Regions from separate parts of the Homo sapiens genome. Here region 2 is linked to region 1. The links are contacts of gene promoters, found by promoter capture Hi-C in blood cells and fetal thymus (Javierre and others, 2016). All regions are on one chromosome and are shown on one strand. Each heading gives the region's core, a stretch centred on a gene start or on the middle of the fragment in contact. The rest is flanking DNA. Distances are from core to core; before and after follow the strand shown.

Region 1 (7,152 bases), core at 3,374-5,873:
GAGCCAAAACACACCGACAAGGGGGATGCTCTGTCTCCTGAAGAATCTGTCACAAAAGAAAATTCTATAGCCCTCAAGCTGGAAGAGGCCCTGGAGATAACTTTGTCATCACAGGGTGGCACCCTCTAGTTGCCCCAGGCAGATGAGGTCCTAGAGGAACCCGTCCCTAATATTGAACTTCAAGAGGTCCTTCCTGTATCTAACTCAGCCTTCAGAGAAAGGGCAGAGCAGTTACAAGGCAAGGATGACTGAGAACTCCAACACCTGAGGCCAAGACTCAGCACTGTGTACAAGGTGTGGAGCCTGTAGAGGACAAACCTGACTGAGGGTTGTCCTCCCCCTCACCTCAGCCTGACTGCAAATTTGTTTATGTCATCCGGATGACGTCATGCTAACTTGACCAGTTGGAGCAGCTGTGAGGGAAAACAGACCCCAAAGGTCCCTCTCCTGAGTCCTGTGAGGGGAAGGGGGTGTCTTTGTGTGGATGCTGTTGGTGAGTAGAGAGCCAATGGAGCATAACGCTTACAGTGCAGGCTCTGAAATAGCCAAGCTGCCTGAGTTCAAATCCTGCCTCTACCGTGTATCGGCTGTGTGACCATAGACATGATACTGTGCCTCTCTCTTCCTCAGTTAACTTTTCTATAAAATGGGCATGATGGCAGTGCCTAGCCAATTGGGTTGTAGTGAGGCTTCCATAAGGGAATACATGGACAGCCCTTGGGCCATGCCTGGCACTTTCTTTGCATTGCTCTTGTGAAGGTGACCAGTTTGCCTGGAACATCCTGGCTATGCTTGTGGTCCCAGCATTGCTATGAATATTCCCCCTTTCACTCCCGGCAGTGCCCGAGGTTGGATGATGTATTATAAGAGTGACTCCCTTTGGCTTCTTCATGTCCACCTGGTTATCTCCCTGCTTCATGCTGCCTCTGAGTACTGGGGAGCCAGGTTCCCAAAATATAGGTCCCCAAAGTAGGTTCTGCCCATGCCACTGAGCTGTCTGCTCCACAAACTCAGCTCTTCCTCTTTTCCTTCTTCTCTGCACTTTGTCTCTTCTCCTTCCTTGATCCTTACAGCCATCCTCTCCTTTCCTGCTTCCCTGTCCGTGCCTTAGGATTCTGCTGGTGCACACAGGTACCGTCTGGCTTTATTGGGACTTCCCCCTGACCCTGTACTTGGACGGAACCCTTTATGGCTCTAACTAAACTGTGCCTTATCAAATTTCTCTCAGAGGAAAGGAAGCGATTTGAAAAGGCAAAGAAATGACCAATAGATGGATGAGTGGAACAATGTGCTGGTTTTTGTTGTTGTTGTTGTTGCTGTTTCTTTGTGTGTGTGTGTGTGTGTGTGTGTGTGTGTGTGTGTGTGTGTGTGTTGTGTTGGTAGGAACAAAAAGTGTACCAGTTTGAAATGGTCCATTGAATGCTAGACCTGTCTATAGAACTGTCCCCAGGGCTATTTTTTTTATTTTTTATTTTTATTTTTTGAGACGGAGTATCGCTCTTGTCACTCAGGCTGGAGTGCAATGGCGCAATCTCAGCTCACTGCAAACACCGCCTCCCGGGTTCAACCAATTCTCCTGCTTGGCCTCCTGAATAGCTGGGATTACAGGTGCCTGCCACCAAGCCCAGCTAATTTCTGTATTTTTAGTAGAAATGAGGTTTTGCCACGTTGGCCAGGCTGGTCTCGAACTTCTGACCTCAGGTGATCCACCCGCCTCAGCTTCCAAAGTGCTGGGATTACAGGTGTGAGCCACCAAGCCTGGCCCCCAGGGCTATTTTACAGGAAACCCTGGAGGCTCCTCTGCAAGACAGCGGCCTCCATGTGTGTCAGTGCAGAAAGCAAAACCTCTGGAGCCCAAGGGCCTGGACCCATTTCTGCCACTCACTAACAGCTGACAAAGGACCATGATTTCGCAAAGACTCAGTTTCTCCATCCGTAAAATAGGGCAGACTTGTCTCTAGAACACCGTGATTCTATGACATTGTAAGAGGCCGTGGACCTGCTCTTAAGATCCTGAATTCTGCAATATTCTGCAATATTTGGCAATTACATCTTTTAGCTCTTCTCTAGGGGAAACATACGAGGGAAACAGGGCCTTGGAAAATATAAAATCTGAACTAATTCTCACCTAAGGTATCATGGCAAGTGCCTGAGTCCTCTGTGCATTGCAACAAAATAGACACTATTTTGTGTGGAAGAAAAGCAAGAGAGAGATGTGAACTCAGTGGGTGATTAGCCTGTCCCTGAGGAATCCCTCACTAGCTCTCCCCTAGCTTCTCTCAGCTGCATTGCCAGTACCCAGGCAGCCTGCAGATTCAACCCTCCCTCCCCACAACAGGTTCAGCAAACCATTGCAACAAGGAGCCCCAAGGCAGAATGGATGGCTACTGCGGCCACTGCCCCAGTGCTGGGGCCTGCCTTCTGCAGGCTCACCACAGCGTGACGCATCTCCAATCACCCCCCACACCTGGGGTTCCATCTCTGTCAGTGGCATCACCAGCCACTCTAACTCTGGAATCCAAATCGCCATCATCTTGGTCTCTTCTGCTCTGGTCCCTGACATTTATTCAGTTACCAGATTGCATCTACTCCATTGTTCTCTGGGTTAAAATCCCCATCCCACCACTTATTTTCTGTATGACCTTGGATAAACCACCTAACCTCTCTCTCAGTTTCCTCCTCTACAATATGGAACAATCATAGCAATCTCCTCATGAGGTTGTCAGGAGGATTAAATGAGATTAAACATGAAAATCTCCTACCACAGGCCCTGGCACATGGCAGATGACTTTTCCCCTACCCCCAAGCCTTTTAGCCCCTTCCTGTCCATTCCCACCAGCCCTGTTCAACCCCTCATGGTGACTGCAATGGGCTTCTTCCCAGGTTCTCTTCCCACAGCTTCCTCCACTGCAGTACATCCCATACCCAGGTGCAGATGACATGTTCTTCTGAACCCAGCTCCAGGAACAACACTTCCCTTCTTAGAAACCATCAAAATATCCCTAGGCTTAATAATGAAGTTTCTAGACTCGTAACACTCCAAGCCTCTGCCATCTCTCCCAGGCAGCACTCCTCACCGGATTGTCCACTACATTACTCCTTGCTCCTCAGGTACAACCCACCTTCACGGCTTTGCTCAGCCGTCCTTCCCCAAGATGCCCAGACCCAGCCTCCTATTCAAGGCCCGGCCTCAGTGCCACATCCAGGACGCCCTCTGCGAGTCACTCCTTCCAGAAGTAACCTCCCTCCTCCAAACTCCCTCTACACACTTTATAGTATAGAACCGAGAGGTGACAGGACCTCGGAAGCCGTACCTGAAGCCTCTCACTTATAGAACCGAGAGGTGACAGGACCTCGGAAGCCATACCTGAAGCCTCTCACTTATCACTTAAAAACTGCGCATGAAGTAGCTCTTATGGGCAAATACTAAACCATGAGGTTGTACATATTCATTTCACCTGAAAAGGGGCATGAACTCTGGACCCTTCAACAAAAATGCTGATTCCACGTGGAGCAAACTGCTCTGATTTCATATCCCTATGCCCACATCCTTGATAAAAAGACTCTTCGGTACATGCTGCTTTCTTCCAGAGACAAGGAACCCATCACCTCATGAGTTAGGTTCTTCCTCCTGACCCTCTGACCACCCTGGGGACTCCCACGGATTGGCTCTTTCTGTCCTCTTGAGTCACACAGAACGAATTCCTTTGAGACTCCTGGTGTCCTCCACAGAGCCAAACAGGGCAGGTTCCTAAGCACACTGTGTAAACAGATAAATGAACTCAGAGGGCTTTCCCACGTGGCAGGGTACATTCGCTGCATCCCGTGCATGCATGGGTGCACAGACACACACTCGCACACACACGGACACACACACACACACACGGACACACACACACAGACACACACACACACGGACACACACACACACGGACAGAGTCAGCACAACGCCTCTGAGCCACACAGCCAGGCCAGCACACGCGGGGGCCAGGGCGGAAGCCAAGCCCCAGCAGCCGCCCACTTCCTGACCTCCTTCCTTTGCTCTGGGAGGTTCTCTCTCTGTGTCTTTCTGACTGTCTGTCTCGGTTCTTTGTTTCTCGGCATGGCAACAGTTGTGGATGCTGCCTGCGTGGCCAGGGCTCCTAGTAGCACTGACCTGCAAGGTAGGAGTTTTGGTTCTTAGACTTGAGACCTTGGGCAAGTCACTTTACCATTCTGAGCCTCAGTTTCCTCATCTGTGAAATGAAGAGGCTGGATGAGGCTGGAGGGTTCCTAAGGTCCTTTCCTGACCAAAACCCTAGTGCTTCTCGGCTCTCCTCCAGTCCCGTTACCGAGTGACAGGGAGGGGAGCAAGGGCCAGGCCAGGCCTGGGGGTGGCAGGGGAGCCAGCTGTTCCCCCCCAAGGGCACACAGCCTCCATCCAGGCCCTCTGCGAGTTCCATGTGCGGCAGACACGCGCTCACACTTCGCAGCCGGAGGAGCAGGCAGGAAGCGCCGCCCCCCGGCCGCCCCGGCCGCCCACCCTCAACCTTCCTCCACGTTACCTTGGGCGTGTAGGCTTCCCGTGGACCTGCCCGCGCCGCCCGCTCGGCTCTCAGCTGTCAAGCAGCCGCCTGCTCCGCCCGACTCTTTCCGCTCCGAGCCGCGCGGGCTGGACCAGCCCCTCAGCGGAGCTGAACGGGAAGCGGCGCCCCCTGGACGCCCTCCGGGACGTGCGCGCGCCAAGCGGTGGGGTCCGGGCCTGCAGGCGCGACCTGAGGCCGCCAGGGAGGCTGGGTGGCGAGGGCGGGGCGGCTGCCGACTTAGCCGGCCTGACTGGTCGGGCTTCCGGGGTCCCGCTGCTCCCTAGGCCCCTTGCCCCGATTCAGGCTCCCAAGGTGGGGCATCAGTCCGGCCCTCGCTGGCTCACTGGAGAGGTGGTGTCTGGGAGTGCACCCCCGAAAACCCGGCAGCAGCCCGGCGTCACTCCGGCTGTTACCTCTGGGAGCAGAAACTAAAGGGGATCCTTATTCTTTATACTTTTCTGACTCTTCTATATATTCTACTGTGGGCATGAATCGTTAAAAACAAAACAAAACACCAAAAACCCAATACGTATTTGTTAATAAAGCACTGAGTAAATCTTCAAAGGCCTCCCGAGGTGCTCCGGCTGCAGGATAACCCCTCAGCTTAGCGCACAAGGCAAGGCCCACCCTGCCCTCTCCGGCCACAACCTAATTTTCCAGCCTCACCCTCTCTCCCTCACACACACACAACACTTTCGCTCTGGACACACTAGCTGTTGCCAAACACCAGCTGTTCTTCATGGCTGCTGGGAGTTCTTCTTTTTGCCTGGAACACCCTCCCCTTTCATCTCTGCCTGTTGAAATCCTACTCATCCATCCAGGCCCCTCTGAAATGTCACCTTTTTGGAGAACCCTTCCCCAGACACTGCCCCTGCAGAGTGCCCCAGTTCTTTCCTGGCAAGCCCATCTTTCTGGTACTGGTTTATGTAGTAGCATCCCCCTCTCACACGCGCTAAGTCCTATTCCAAGGTGGAGAGAAACAAATTAGCACTTACTGAGCAGCTGTTATAAATTACTCTGTGGAGTCCTTTCTTCTCCTTGCAGCCCAGCCAGCCACTAGCCCACAACCTCCCTCCACCCTGCCAGAGTTTCAGAAGGCTGTCAGGGGCTCTGAGGCCTGCCCTCTGGTGTGTCCCTACTGCGTGCCTTGGCTTTTCTGGCTCTGTCCTGGGTATGCTTCCCTGTGTCAACTCCCAAGGTCTGCAAGCTGGTGGCTTGACCTTCTCTCAGCCTTATGTGAGGAAAGAAGGACATTTCATTATCAGAATCTGAGAAGTGGAAGGGGCCTCAGAGATTATCCAGTGTAAAGCCTGCCCACCCATTTTACAGAGCAGAAAACTGTGACCAGAGAGATAAGGTCAGAGGCATCGGAGGTACCTACCATTGTTATTGTTGTTTTTAATAGTGTTAATACTTGCACGTTTAGATCGCCTTTCACTTCTAAATCAATGCGTTGTCATTCATTTGCCCCTTACAGTCTCAGAGGTATTACAGTGGTTAGTGCACAGACTCTGGAGGCCAAAGCCCTGGGTTTGAATCTCAGTGCTCCAACTTGCCAGCTACGTCCTTGGCAAGTTACTGGAACTTTCTCCATCAGTACAATGTGGATAGTAACAGCTCCTGCATCATGGGGTGTTCTATGAATCGAAATAAATGTGTATCTTTAAAGGGCTTAGAATAGTAGTAGGTTCATTAAAAATGCCAAATGTATTTGCTCTTATCAAATTTTTGTTATTGTTAATTGTATCACTTCACAGTTGGAATAACAGAGGCTCAGAAAGGCTGAGACTCATCCAAAAAATTGCTGCTTTGAGGATGGTTTCTCACCAAACTCCATGCAGTCATCTTTGTCTCTGATGCCATTCTGCTTCCTGTTCCCTTGTGTCTGAGTCTAACCACCTATTTAATAGGGAAGAAAAGCAACTGTCCTTTAGCCCACCTCAGAACACCTAGACATTTCATGTTGCAAACATTAACCACATCTTCTGGCTTCTATGGGGATGTCTCTAATTTGCTGGCGTTTTCTTTAACAGAACACCACGCCTCATGGTGCCCTTCAGAATCACAGAGCCATCACATTAACTGCTGCAAGTTCAGCTTGTACATTCGTGCCTCTTTTACTCTTGGCCCGTGGCAGAAAAGCGACAGGGAAAAGATGGTTCTTCCAATGTATGGATGTAGGAAACTGAGGCACAGTTGATACTCACTGATTGGCCCCAGGCTATGGAGCTAGCCTGGACCATGGGAAGGATGAGGATCTCCACCTCCTCTTTCCCCATGATTACATGATTCAGTGTTGCAGGAGAAACCCAAACTCGTTTATTCAATGAGGATTTATTGAGCTCTCTCTAGGTGACGAATAAGACCGAGGCAAGGCTGGCTTCCTGGGCATATGACCTATGAAGTCACATAGGCCAGAGGTCCCCAACCTTTTTGGAACCAGGAACCTGTTTCGTGGAAGACAATTTTTCCATGGACCAGGGGTGGGAGTGGGGGGTGGGAATGGTTTCAGGATAAAACTGTTCCACCTCAGATCATCAGGCATTAGTTAGATTCTCATAAGGAGTGTGCAAACTAGATCCCTCAC
Region 2 (7,148 bases), core at 1-2,500, 900 kb after region 1:
AAGGTTTTTTTCTCTCTTCCAATTCAATTTGTTAGGCGACACTTCAGTAAACAGTAGGGGCAAGATAGAGTGGAAACAGCCAAGATTTCAAGCCTAGTAATAAGCAACTTCTACATCCCTACTCATCACAGGCCTTTTTGTCTATCCCAGAAACACATACTTTTCCTGAAAAAACAAAGCACTGGAAGGATTACCAAGTCTAGAAAGAACCCGCCCTCCCCAAACTAGGTGGTTTTCTGATAAGCCTAAGGTATGTTTCACAGGATCACTGGTTGCCATCTCCTACCCAGCAATCTGGAGAGGTTGACCAGAATAAAGTATTTTAAAATCCAAGCGCTTAGTCTAACCTGGAATTTCCTCAGTTTCTAGATGGCTCTTTGTAGAACAATGCAGATTCTCAAAGGTGACCACAGTTAAAGAAAAAATTACAAGCCATTGCGCTAGAGAGAGCCATCTGCAGTTTCTCCTTAGACAGATGTTCAGATGGCACACATGGCCACTAAATTTGCATAATATTTCAGGAAGTTCACAGATTTCCCGAAGCCCACTCATGAATCACACTTCTGGTTAAGAACTCCTAGATTCATATGCTAGTTGGTGATAAGTGCTTTGGTATATAAACTTAAACCAAAAATTGGTGGAATAATTACCACCTTGGATAGGATGGTCAGAGAAGTTTTATCCGAAGAGGTCACTTTTGAGCAGAGACTTGAGCTGGTGCAGACACCTGAGTGTGCATTCCAGGAAACGCGAACAGCAGGCGCAAGGGTCCCTATGAGAGAATGTGCTTGGCGGGCTCGACGCACATTTATTTACTTGGGACACACCCTATTTTGGTTTCTCTTCTCCACTTTTCCCCTCGTTCTTGTCCCCCCTTTTCTCTCTCCTGGGCCCTGGATCTCCTGAGCGCGGAGGGCTACGCCTCCTTCTTCCTCCGGACTCACCAGGGCTGCCAGCTTAGCTTACATTTTCAGGGAACAGGAAACTGAGAGTCAGGAAAGGTGAGCTCTTCTACCTCGGGTCTTGCCATTTTGCATGTCCTGAGTCAGTCACTGGTTAACTCTGAACTTCAGGTTCCTCGGCAATTAGAGATTATAAATAGCCTATACAGCCTATTCCAGATCTGAGATTCCAACAGCCAAAGTCTTTTCACTTCCTTTCTTCCCCCTCTCCTTCACTTTCCCAGCTTTCTTCTTAACCAACAATCTACCCGAAACCGTCGTTTCTTGGTTAGCGCTTGCGCAGACAGGCGAGAAAGGTAAGTTTTGACCCAGCTTAGCAGCCGTAGTCAGCCGGGAGTGCTGTCGTGGGGGATTGTGGGAAAAGATGGCGGCTGCCGCACAATCCCGGGTTGTCCGGGTCCTGTCAATGTCACGTAAGTGTTACCGGGAACGGCGGCCCCTGGTCGGGATTCCGAGACGGGGATTTAAGGTTTTGGAAGTGGCACCGTGCTGCAGCGGTCACGCCAACTTCCTAGGCACACTCTGGTTTCTCTAGGTTTGGAGCTGCCTCAGTCTGGTTTCTCCTTTCGCTTTCCGCTTCCCCGGCTCACATATTCAATTGTGCACCACCTTGGGAGGGGACAAAAGATCTTAAGCAGCTGTAAGCGAAGAGGAGAATGCGGGGGACACGTTAGGGATCGAGAGAATCAGAATTCTGATATGGTTGTAAGGGTTTAGGGTTATGAGAAATATTTGTATGGGGCGGGGGGAGAAATGTGTAAGGGAGGGAAAAAAGGCTAGTGGCGAGAGGTTTTCTTAGATTGATTTTATGACCTTGTGCAAACCCTTAATGGGTCTCAATTCATATGAGCACAATGGAAATGATAATATTACAATACCAGGGAGTCTCTGATAAGATTAAATGAGCTAATATTTGTAAAAGCATCCTTTTACCCAAAAGCGTCTCTACGGATGTAGAATGTGTTCGGCAAAGTGCGTTGGGGTCTGGGGGAGAGAGTGATGTTTGAGGAGAGAAGAATCAGGAGCTTGGTGGAAAGGAAAGTGAAGAATGAAGGCTATGTTAGAATTTGTTAGCATTATTTAGTTTCTCTTCTGTTCTGATTGGATCTGCTCCCACTCCTCAAACTGAAAACATACATTTGTCCTTCCACTCACTAAAAAGCAAGGAAATTAGAAATACGGTTACACTTCATCATTGTCCTTTCACCCTCTACTCTTCCACAAACATATTCCAATCAAACCCCCAAAGTTGTATTTTTCTTAGTGTATTTTAGTCGTTACAGAATATCATTTGCTTTCAAAATTGGCTCATGTCAGAATCACTCGTAAAGCTTTATAAAAATTAGAAATGAGGACTGAGTGTAGAGCTATTGAGTCAGAATTTGTGAGATTAGCTCCTTGCACCTTAAATTTTTAAAAGCACCACAGATAGGCTTGATGTTCAGCCTGAGGCAAGAATTAGGAGTGTTTAGAGGATCCTTTTTTTTTTGTTTTCCATCTTGGGTAGAACTCCTGCATACCACTGGGAAGGTGGTGGTGCACATCACTTATAGTGGATGGTTTTGTAGTCACAATGTCTTTGCAAAGACATTTGCTGGTTCTTGTTAAACTATTACAATTGTATGACGTAATGTAGATTGTGAATGGTAATCACTATTTATTGAGTACCTGCTATCTGCAATCTCCAGTTCTAGGTATTTTTATTAATTTTCCTCTTTTAACTTACTTTCCTCTGACTGACACCATAGCTTGTGTTCTTAACCACTCTGCGTTATTGTCTGGTAAAGTAAGTTTTTGAGTAAATTCTGTAGAGGCAAGTCTAGTATGTAACATAATCCACACACTATAGGACAGAACTGTGTAAGACAACTATATATAGTTAAGTGTGGCAAGACTATTAAGTATCACAGGAAATCATAAAAGGGAAAGATTAGTATCATTTGAGGTACTGAGGGATGATTGGAAGACCAGTGGAGAATTGTAGTGCTCCCACTGGTCTCTTTAGGGCTGTTATGATCTGGAAAGTCCTCTGGCAAAGACAAGTGGGTGAGAATGGAGTCATGAGGTATTCAAGAGGCAGTGAAATGACTACCTGAATATCTGGGATAGTGGAAAAGGAGGTTGAATGTGTTAGATGGGATCAGACAATGGAGACCTTTGAAAGCCAAGCAGAGTTTAGATCGGTAGTCTCCAAAGGGAGTTGTGCAAGAGGACCTAATAAGTTGTGGAAATATAAATTAGAACTCCTAAAAATTGCTTTCTATAGTAATAATAGCTAACACTTATGTAGTTTAAACTGTATGCCACACACTATTCTAAGTAATGTATGATTTATAATGTGTATATCATATTGGTACTACATAGAACGTGCATATAATTTTTTAAATAAATACTTAAAAAAATTAATGCAGTGTGCAAGCAAATATGTCTGGACTATTGGTTTGGGTATTGCAGTAGGAAACTAATGTAGGTTTTTAAGCAGAGAAATATAATGAATATATAATTAATAAAGAATATCATTCTTCTAATAGTACTCATAATAAATGGAAGAAAGTGGAGAGGCTGGAACCAAAGAGAGTAATAATTTATATTTATTGAGCACCTAGTATTTGCAAGGCACTGTGACAGATGCTTGCCCATATGTTATTCTCATTAACCCTTTAAACTGTGAGCTTCATGAAGCCAGGGTTTTGTATTTTACTGTGATAGTCACAGTTTCTAGAATAATTCTTGGCCCATAATTATTAAAAAAAAACAATAGCCATGTGAGGTTAGTGTGACATTACCTTCTGAGAAATTTCAAAGTAATAAAAGCAACTATTATTCATAGAATGCTTAATGTGCTCTAGGTAATGTGCTACGTGGTTTATGTATGTTTAATCCTCTTAACAGTCCTTTGAGGTATTAATTCCTCAACTCAAGTAATTCTTCCCAGTTCATTGACTCTGCCATCTTTTGCCTGTCTTATCCTATGTCCTCATTTCCTTACTCTTCACTCTTATCATTCCCTTTTATGCATCCTCAACTCCCCAGCCCAACTCCCATTGTCGTAAAAAACATTGACCCTGATTAAACAAAACTTTCCACGTAATTTGCTGCCTGCCACTGAGCAATGGAGAACGGGGCTAGGGAAAACTTCAGACTAACTGGCCTTATTTTAAATTCATGAATACAAATCTCAAGTAGATTTTCAGTGCTACATTTTTCTAGGAAATTTGGTTTCCTTGTCTCCATAATCATTACTTAACATAGCGAGTTTCCTAAAACCTCTAACATGTGCTTTTGTCTCATTCTCAGCTTTACAGAGAAATCAAAGGAATCAGATGAGAACAGTCATTTTCCCACCATAAACTCTAATAGTTGATATGTGATAATTCTTTGCCTTTTCTCTTGTTACAGTGGGTGAGCTCCTTCTGTTCCAATCTGTGGCCAGTTCCTTCACTTTGCATTCAATCTTATCCTCTCTCAACTATTCATTCCCTTTCCTGAATCAGTAATTTTCTACCTCTACCATGGAAATCATGTCATTTCCATCAGCACATAAATGTTAACTCATATTTAAAACAAACAAACAAACCTATTCCTGTCCTTGTTTTCTCTAGTTCCATTTCTCCTTTTTCAGAAGGATTGTGTATACTCCTCATCTACTTCCTTGCCTCACAGCCTCTCTTGTTTGCTCCAGTCTGGCTTTCAGTCCCACTAATCCAATAAAATTGCTCTTATTTATGCCACCTACAGCCACATCCTCCAGCTTCTGTGGTCCTCTGTCCTCTTCCTACTTCACTTTCAGCATTTGGTAAAGTTAACCATTCTCTCCTTGAAACAGTTTCTTATTTTGGGTTTTTAGATTCTGTTTCCTTCTGAGTTTTTCTCCTACCTCATGGGACTGCTTTTTAATCTCCTTTACTAGTGCTTTGGGCTAGTCACTAACCTTATCCATAAAGTGGTGATAAAGATAGCATTAAAAAAGATAATACCTATGCAGCACTTAGAATAATGCTGGACACCTGCCAAGAGCTCTGTAAAGGTAGCTGTTAATATGATGTTATTATTTTGTTATTATGATGTGTGGTCCATGATGTTTACTTTTAATTTCTGTCACTATCAGTGAGCTAGGCTATTTCTCCAATTCAATACTTTTGGATAGGGAAGAACAATGACCTTTGGGCAGAATGCCACCTGAAAGTCATCCCTAGAAACAAACACAGATTTTCTAAAGAAAGTCCTGTTTGTGTCTTTCACCTCTCCCAAGTGTACAAAGCACGAATGCTAAGCTCCGAAGTTTGTTGATTGGAGCAGAAGTGCGTTAGCACTTTAAACCTTTTTGTTTCTACTTACATGAAAGTTGAGCAGCTAACTCTAAAATTCTATTCTAAGGAGTTAGCAATAACTTGAAAACTGGAATGTATCCAAAAGAGATTCTCATTCCTGCCATATGAAGAATATTTGACAGGACAGGGAATGTTTAACCTGGAGAAGAAAATATTTAGTGGGGCTATAATTGCTACACTTAATTGTAGAAGAGGGATTAGACTTGTTCTTTGTCATTCTGGAGGAACACAGGGATAAAAACTTCTGGGAAGCAGTCACTGATTCCCCTTGTGGTAGAACTTTCTTTCTGTTAGAATGGCTCAAAGCAGAATGGGCAGCTACAGGAAGTAGTGAGTTTCCCAACTCCACAGGTGTTCAGGCAAAAGCCAGATGATTTCTTTGCACACATGCTGTAGAGAAGATGTAAGCATTGGTACATGAACTTTGAGGGTTCATTCTAGTACCAAGAACCTCAGTCAATGAAAAAGAAATGGTGGAATGTTTGACAAGTCTCTTGCTGTTAAACTTTCTAAAAGTCAGAATATCTTTTCTCAAGCACTTCACTCCTTTTATCATTATTTGTGATGTTCTTCAGTGGTTTTATAGTAAGTCTGAACTATTGAACTGCATTCTTTTTTTTTTTTTTTAATGTTCTGTACTAATAATCATCTGCTTCCGACCAGTATCATCAACCTTATTTTTCATTAGTCACCAGTTTCAGATTCTGTTCCAGGAGAGTCTTTTGCTGTTGCCCTGTGCTGTAGGCTTATTCATTCTACCTCTGCATTGTGATGTGTTCCTCATGGGATTCTGTCCTTTCTTTTTTTTTTCCTCTTTTAAGACCTTTCTCAAAACATTTTATCCAGGAATACTTCCTCATGGTAATGTGATTTATTGCTCATTTATTACATATTCTCAGTTCCTTTTACCGTATAGGCTTATGCTTTCCTACTTTGTGACTGTTTAATATGTTTTTTAAAAAATGTGACTTATCTTCTTAGGTAAGTTACATTGTATAGGGTAGGGAGTATATTTCCTCATGTCCTCTGGATTCTGTGTCGTAGTAGTTTGTGTTTATTATTGCCCTTGATACTTAAATTGCTAAAGTACTGATTGCAAAATAATGTTACAAGTTTTTAGAGAAAGGAGCTATTTGTGTTGACAGTTTTAAAAATATTAATATTTGCCATGCTTGTATACTTTGGGGTTTTGTTTAAGGTTCTGCCATTACTGCAATAGCCACATCTGTGTGTCACGGCCCACCCTGTCGCCAGCTTCATCATGCCCTCATGCCTCATGGGAAAGGTGGACGTTCCTCAGTCAGTGGGATTGTGGCCACTGTGTTTGGAGCAACAGGATTCCTGGGGCGATATGTTGTCAACCACCTTGGTAAGTAAAGTTCCTTAAGTTCATATGCTCCATTGCCATTGATCAGGATTGCCTGATGAGAAGCATGAGCTATGTTTCTCTTCATTTTAACAGTATTATGAATTACTCCTGTCTTGGATGTATGTAATTTTTATTTGTTGTGACATGAAGAGCACACTCATGCTCCTATATAGGAATTATTAGGATAGGAATAAGGGACTCTGAAAAGCTATGGCATCTTTAGCATGGCAAAATATTCTTTTTGTCAAATATAATATCAATTCACATACCATACTAGAATTTAAATATTTACCAAGTCACAATTGTATAATATATCCACATTATGTTAATGTTGATCCTTTTTTCAATCCATTCTCTTTTAGGACGCATGGGGTCACAGGTAATCATACCCTATCGGTGTGATAAATATGACATCATGCACCTTCGTCCCATGGGTGACCTGGGCCAGCTTCTGTTTCTGGTAAGGGCCTTTATGACTGAATGAAG

What was found. Contacts are between HindIII fragments. The CHiCAGO score rates a contact against its expected background, and 5 or more counts as called.
Region 2: the fragment with the promoter of AKAP3 here is called in contact with a fragment that was not itself captured in region 1 in 1 of 17 cell types (total CD4 T cells); the score reaches 5.7 in total CD4 T cells.

What each region holds. Positions count from the first base shown.
Region 1 is chr12:3,748,471-3,755,622 of GRCh38, forward strand. It overlaps CRACR2A (calcium release activated channel regulator 2A), which reads right to left and starts at 4,639. Exons shown (of 20, transcript NM_001144958.2): 1 at 4,545-4,639. RefSeq lists a silencer at 4,374-4,873. The HindIII fragment of the contact is 9,621 bases long and covers 1-7,152 here.
Region 2 is chr12:4,647,801-4,654,948 of GRCh38, forward strand. AKAP3 (A-kinase anchoring protein 3) reads right to left here and starts at 1,251. Exons shown (of 6, transcript NM_001278309.2): 1 at 945-1,251. It overlaps NDUFA9 (NADH:ubiquinone oxidoreductase subunit A9), which reads left to right and starts at 1,314. Exons shown (of 11, transcript NM_005002.5): 1 at 1,314-1,375; 2 at 6,492-6,662; 3 at 7,025-7,122. The coding sequence starts at 1,327. RefSeq lists enhancers at 676-725, 1,006-1,215, 1,084-1,739. The HindIII fragment of the contact is 2,310 bases long and covers 1-2,291 here.